Regions from separate parts of the Homo sapiens genome. Here region 1 is linked to region 2. Evidence: promoter capture Hi-C in human tissues and cell types (Jung and others, 2019). All regions are on one chromosome and are shown on one strand. Each heading gives the region's core, a stretch centred on a gene start or on the middle of the fragment in contact. The rest is flanking DNA. Distances are from core to core; before and after follow the strand shown.

The links. The method cuts DNA at HindIII sites, captures the fragments that hold promoters and counts their contacts. A contact is called where the count stands out against the background at its distance.
Region 1: a contact is called between a fragment that was not itself captured here and the fragment with the promoter of NKX2-1 in region 2, in 4 of the 25 tissues and cell types used here (H1 embryonic stem cells, hippocampus, neural progenitor cells and 1 more).

What each region holds. Positions count from the first base shown.
Region 1 is chr14:36,442,018-36,444,717 of GRCh38, forward strand. No RefSeq gene overlaps it. Among named protein-coding and RNA genes, the nearest start is that of NKX2-1-AS1, 76 kb to the right of the region's middle. RefSeq lists an enhancer at 1-2,700. The HindIII fragment of the contact is 5,707 bases long and covers 1-2,700 here.
Region 2 is chr14:36,518,790-36,521,514 of GRCh38, forward strand. It overlaps NKX2-1 (NK2 homeobox 1), which reads right to left and starts at 1,443. Exons shown (of 3, transcript NM_001079668.3): 1 at 1,264-1,443; 2 at 196-581. The coding sequence starts at 1,340. SFTA3 (surfactant associated 3) reads right to left here and starts at 767. Exons shown (of 5, transcript NR_161365.1): 1 at 679-767. NKX2-1-AS1 (NKX2-1 antisense RNA 1) reads left to right here and starts at 489. Exons shown (of 2, transcript NR_103710.1): 1 at 489-890. RefSeq lists enhancers at 859-1,858, 1,859-2,725. The HindIII fragment of the contact is 7,239 bases long and covers 1-2,725 here.

The sequences.
Region 1 (2,700 bases), core at 92-2,591, 77 kb before region 2:
TATTTTTTCTAGTCCTATACTTCCAGAGGATGGGAAACTGTTCTTAAAAGTGCAATGGACTGACAGAAAGCAGATCCGCGGTTGCCTCCAGGGCTGGGGGAGGGGATTGACTGCAAAGGGGCGCACGGGAATTTACTGGGGTGACAGAAAGATTCCACATCACAATTAAGGTGGTGGTTACATGATTGTATACATTTGCCAAAATTTACTACATTTACAATTAAAATGAGTGGATTGTATTATACATTGCTCAATAAAACTATTTTTAAATAGCTTTAGTAATAAGTGAACTAGTGCTTTTTTTTTGGTGATCATTTGCAAGAATACTCCAAATTCAATAAGAACCAGGATTCTCTTTTCAAAAGTCCAAAAACTAGTAACAAGTGCTGTGTTAGATTTGAAGAGCTGGAAGGACTTTACATACTTAAATTCCATTTTAATCTAGTTGAAACTCCCATAGAAAGAAGAAAAAAATACATTTTTAAAGTACAGATTTTTATTCAATAATTCTTTAGTTCTTTTCTCTTTTAACTTCCCTGGGGGGAGCAGGGAACTCTCATTCTGGTACCGATATTTGGATTAAAACAAATATCCACCCATTCATTAAAAGTTTCTCTCATATAAAGGAATTCATTTTTTTTCTTGATTGGTGCTAGACTCACAGACAGACAGAAATAAGCTGCCATTCTTCCATTTGATAGCCAGACGCTGCCAGTTGTAGCCAGGGTAGTCATGCTGTTAAATTAGGTCTAATGAAGGAGTAATTGCTTTAGATATAGTGAACCATTTCAAAGAAAACAAGGATTCTAATTGATTTGCAATTTGTTTGGCACATTGCATTGTCTGCGGCTATTGATTAGTCTTCTGGATTTCACACTGCATGTGTTTCCCTTTATTAAGGGAATAACAGGTTACTGATTACTTTCTTTCTGGGTTTAATGTAGCGGTTAATGTCTACTTTGTTCTTGTGTCATGTCACAGGCGAGGAAGGAATAATAGGCAAGTGGGTGGCCCTTTGCTAAGCAACTTCCCTGCTGCTCTGAGCTGTGTGCTCTGAGACAGGCTGAAAAGCAGATCAAGAGAAAGGGTTAGAATAGCAGGACTCACAAGTTAAGGCCTGAGTCAGGCTAGACCCAGCTCAAAACTTGGCTTTCCCCTCCCAGTCAAAGCATAGCATGGGACAAAGCAGCTGGTGGTAGATTTGTTCTTGTATCATTCGATTATTTGTAGACAGGATATGAATCTATGCCCATTGTTTTGCTTAATAGGTATGCATGCTAAATGGATGCAGAAAAAGAATATTTGAGGGTGAGGTCTTTTGGTTCATTTAACCCTTTGGAAAGTGACATTTTGTTGGCACCTGGGAAGCACTTGTTGCTGAGGTGTCGATATGATCATCAAAATGGCTCTTATGTTTATACCAACTGCAGGGGAGGGAGAAAAAGTTCTCAGGGTTGCAGTCATTTCATTGCCCTCAAAGCACAGCAGGAATTATTAGCTTACCCTGGCGTGCCCCTTTGTTTTCCTAGGGCTTTGCTCCTCCAGCAGATACTCATTTAAGGCGAATCCACTGCTTTCTGAAATGTGTTTTGCAATGGTGCACAGAACAGGCACTCACTTAGCGGATCTAATCCTTTCATGGCTCAGCTTGTTAATGTAGCAAACTGCTGAAAATGGGAAATGGATTCTTTAATGAGAACAGTCCCTTCATGGCTTTATTCTCCCAGTCCAACCCCCAGGCATTCATTCAAGTCCCCCCACGCCCGACCTCCCACGCCAGGATCAGGCACCCCCACTTCCCACCCAGCAAGCAGCCCATTTTCCAGCACGAAGTCCCCCATCTCTAGGCCCCTTGCTTCCCCACGACCTTCCCAGAGCCCTTGGAAGCTCACAAATAACAAAGGGGTGTAGGCAGTAAAAGATTCCCTTTCTCTGCTTCAGTTACCTCCTTCCTAAGCCTGAGCCCGTCTTTTCCTGTGCTTCAAATCTGACATGGTTATAGAGTGGAGCCTTTTCCTGATAAATTGCAAAGTAGCTAACACCCAGGGATTACATCTAAATTTATCAAATAAACACACTTTTGATATAAACATACTACCCAAGGTATTATAGATTTAATATCTTTCTTTAACATAGCTTTTGTACTATACAGGTTGAATATCCTTGGGACTAGACATGTTTTGGATATTTTTGGATTTTGGACTATTTGCATATACATAATGAGGTCTCTTGGGATGAGACTCAGGTCTCAACATTAAATTTATTTACGTTTCATATACACCTTATAGACATAGCCTGAAGGTAATTTTAGACAATACGATACTAATTTTGTGCATAGAACAATGTTTGTGTTAAGTGCTATTAAGACTTTTTTTAAAGTGTTAAGACTTTTCCACTGTGGCGTCATGTGAGTACTCAAAAAGTTTTAAATTTTGGAGCATTTTGGGTTTTGGATTTTCAGATTAAGGATGCTCAACCTGAATTGGATTTTATAATGATGCTGATTGCCAAGGGTTTCAAAATGGAGCCAATCAGTGAAAGTTAACTTGGACTCTGGTCTTTATTATTTTTCTTTTACGATTTTTACTCCTGTGGGTCTTCCTGAAGCTTTGGTACTTCTCTAGAAATCCACTCCAAAGAAAAAAAATCAGGCCTGGCACAGTGGTTCACATCTGTAATTCCAGCACTTTGGGAGGCCAA
Region 2 (2,725 bases), core at 193-2,692:
CAAGTGCCTGTTCTTGGACCCCCAGCCGAGCAGGGGGAAGCATCCCCAGCTCCCGCACCCAAGTCCCTGGCGCCGCTGCCGGGCCGCCCTCCCTGATGCCCAGCGCGCAGCCTGCCGGCGCCGCGCCTTCTGGACGGCTCTCGCCGCACCTCCTGAGCTCAGCCCGCGGCCCCGCAGTGGGGCGGCCTCACTTACTGGCGGGGAAGCGCGGGTCTGGGTTGGCGCCGTACCATCCGGGGCCAGAGGCGCTGTTCCTCATGGTGTCCTGGTACGGCGGCAGCTCGCTCATGTTGCCCAGGTTGCCGTTGCAGTAGCCCCCCACGGCGGAGTGCGAGAGCTGGGGCACCCCCGCCGCCGTCATGTGGTAGGCGGCGGTGACGGCGCCGTGGTGCCCCACGGCGTGCTGCTGCATGGCCGCTGTTGGCGGTGCCGCCTGGCCCTGCCTGTACGCCGCCAGCGGAGCCCCGAGGCCGCCGCCCTCCATGCCCACTTTCTTGTAGCTTTCCTCCAGGGGACTCAAGATGTCAGACACTGAGAACGGAGTCGTGTGCTTTGGACTCATCGACATGATTCGGCGGCGGCTGGAGGAGGAAGGAAGAGGAGGAAAAAAAAGGGAGAGGGGGAAGGCGAAGCCTCGCTGCTTTTTTTTTCTCCCTTTGCCAAATATTCTGGTGTTACCTTAACGCCGATCTTGTTGGATGTACACGTAACGGAGTGGACCGAGTCCTCCTTAATTGGCTTGAGTGGAGGCTCGGGGGCTGCCTCGCGTTTGTTTTAGCCCGGCGCCAGGTTTTAGGCAGCCACCAGAGGCGGGGCGTAAGCGCTAAAGCAACAAGACAATAGAAGCCTACATCTTGCCCGAGATAATTAGCTTACATGCTGATGACAAGGTAAACACCTTTAAGTTTCACTTGTCAGGATTTTTAGGTCTCAAAGAGAGAGAGAGAGAGGCAGAGACGAGACCCAAAGCATTTCCCCCCTCCCTTGGACACCCCCACCCCCATTTTTTGTGGGGTACCAGCGGAGCGCGGGGAGGAGGTGGAGGGGAGGGGAAGGAGGAGGGAACCGAGAGCGGGGAGGGCAGGAGGTGGGGTGGGGGAGTAACAGAGGAGGAGAGATGGTTGAGAGGAAGGAAGGTGAATGCTGCTTTGCAACCAACTTGCGGAGTTACAAAGTGGAACCACTTTCCAATTCGGTCGGGGTTCCCCGGGCACGGACAGGTCTTTAGGAGGAGGGGGCTGAGGGACAGGGTGGGGGTTTCACCTGAGCCTGCCGGGGCTGCTCCTCCCTCCCGCCGCGGCCTCCCAGCCCCGCGCCTTCCCACTGCCTCCGGACCACATCGGGCTTCGCTGCGCTGAGCCCCAGTCGCCAACAAATGAGCGAGCGAGTCTGGGGACGAACCCTGGGGCCGCACTGTTGGTCTACGTGTCTGTCAGTCTGTCTGCCTCTCTTCTGCCGCCGTCAGAGGGACACCTCTGCTCCCCGCCCCCTTTCCCCCTACCGGAGAGAATCCGAGCGGGCGGAGGGGGCGCTGAGTAGGGGATCGACTGCCTCCCGGAGGCTGTCCCGGATCCCCGAGCCACAACCCGCCCCCGCAGCTCAGGGGTTTTTCAGTGGGCCACCCCCGCTAACACGCCTCCCCCAAGGTCTTCCCCCCCCCCCCCCACCCCCGGCCGAGCAAACACAGCACTGGCCCCCAGAGCTGGGAGGATGGGAAGGGGTCTCACGGGAGGGTCCGTCACTGAAGTTGCCCCACCTCGAACAAACCTGGTGTCCCTGACCCTCGCCCATCTCCCAGACACGCGGGGATCTGGGGCTGGAGCTGACTTTCCGAGGACATCACAGCCCCAGCACCCGAGCCCAGAGCCACGCTGTTTTCCCCTCTGATGCTTCAGGGAGCGCGCGAGCAGGGAGCGGCGTGAGTGCCCGTCTGTCTGTTGCCGGGCGGAACTGAGCCTGAACCCCGGCGGCTGGAGCGCTGGCCAGGAGGGGGCGAATGCCGAGGTGCGGGCAGCTCAGCGGGCGGGAGGCTGGGCCGAGGCTCGCCTCCGCCCGCAGCTCAGCCATGCAAAAGTGCTCTTGCTTCCCGGGAATAACCAAATATCTTTGTTTAAAGTGGTGGCGTAAATGGCCAGTCGCTTTGTGGCCACGCTGGATATTAGTAGATGAGGATCATTCTGCTTCAATTGGGCGCCTCTCATCCGACGAGCAAGAAACTGCTTAGGAGGAAGAGGGTTTCCTGTCTGCGCGTTCCCAGGCTTCAAGTGTGGGCCCCGCGCCTTGAGGGTCCTTGGGCGCCTGGCGAGGGGGAGCTGTGGGCTGCGCTCCCCAGCGGAATCGGGGGTGTCCCCCGCGTTGCTCCGGCCAGGCCGGGGCCTGCAGCCGAGTCGACTACCGAGTGGAGCACTGAACGGCGCGGATTTTGAGACCGACTCCGGTTTTTGTCCTTGGATTTTAAACGTTTTTATCATTGTTTTTGTTTTGCTTTCTCCTTAGCTGTTTTAGTCTCCTCTGCGCGCCAGGGGCTGGGAGGGCGGAGCGCTCCCCGGCCGGCCCCGGCAGGTGCCTCCAAGACACCCGCGCTGGTCAAGGAGCTTCTTGAATTTAGTTTTTGTTTTCACATTTTCTTTCCCCTCCTTGTAGAGAAGGAGCTCCTGATCATGACGAACAGGCAGTTTTGAGCTACTTAATTCATCCGGGCTCCCTTTTTTTATTAATAGCAATT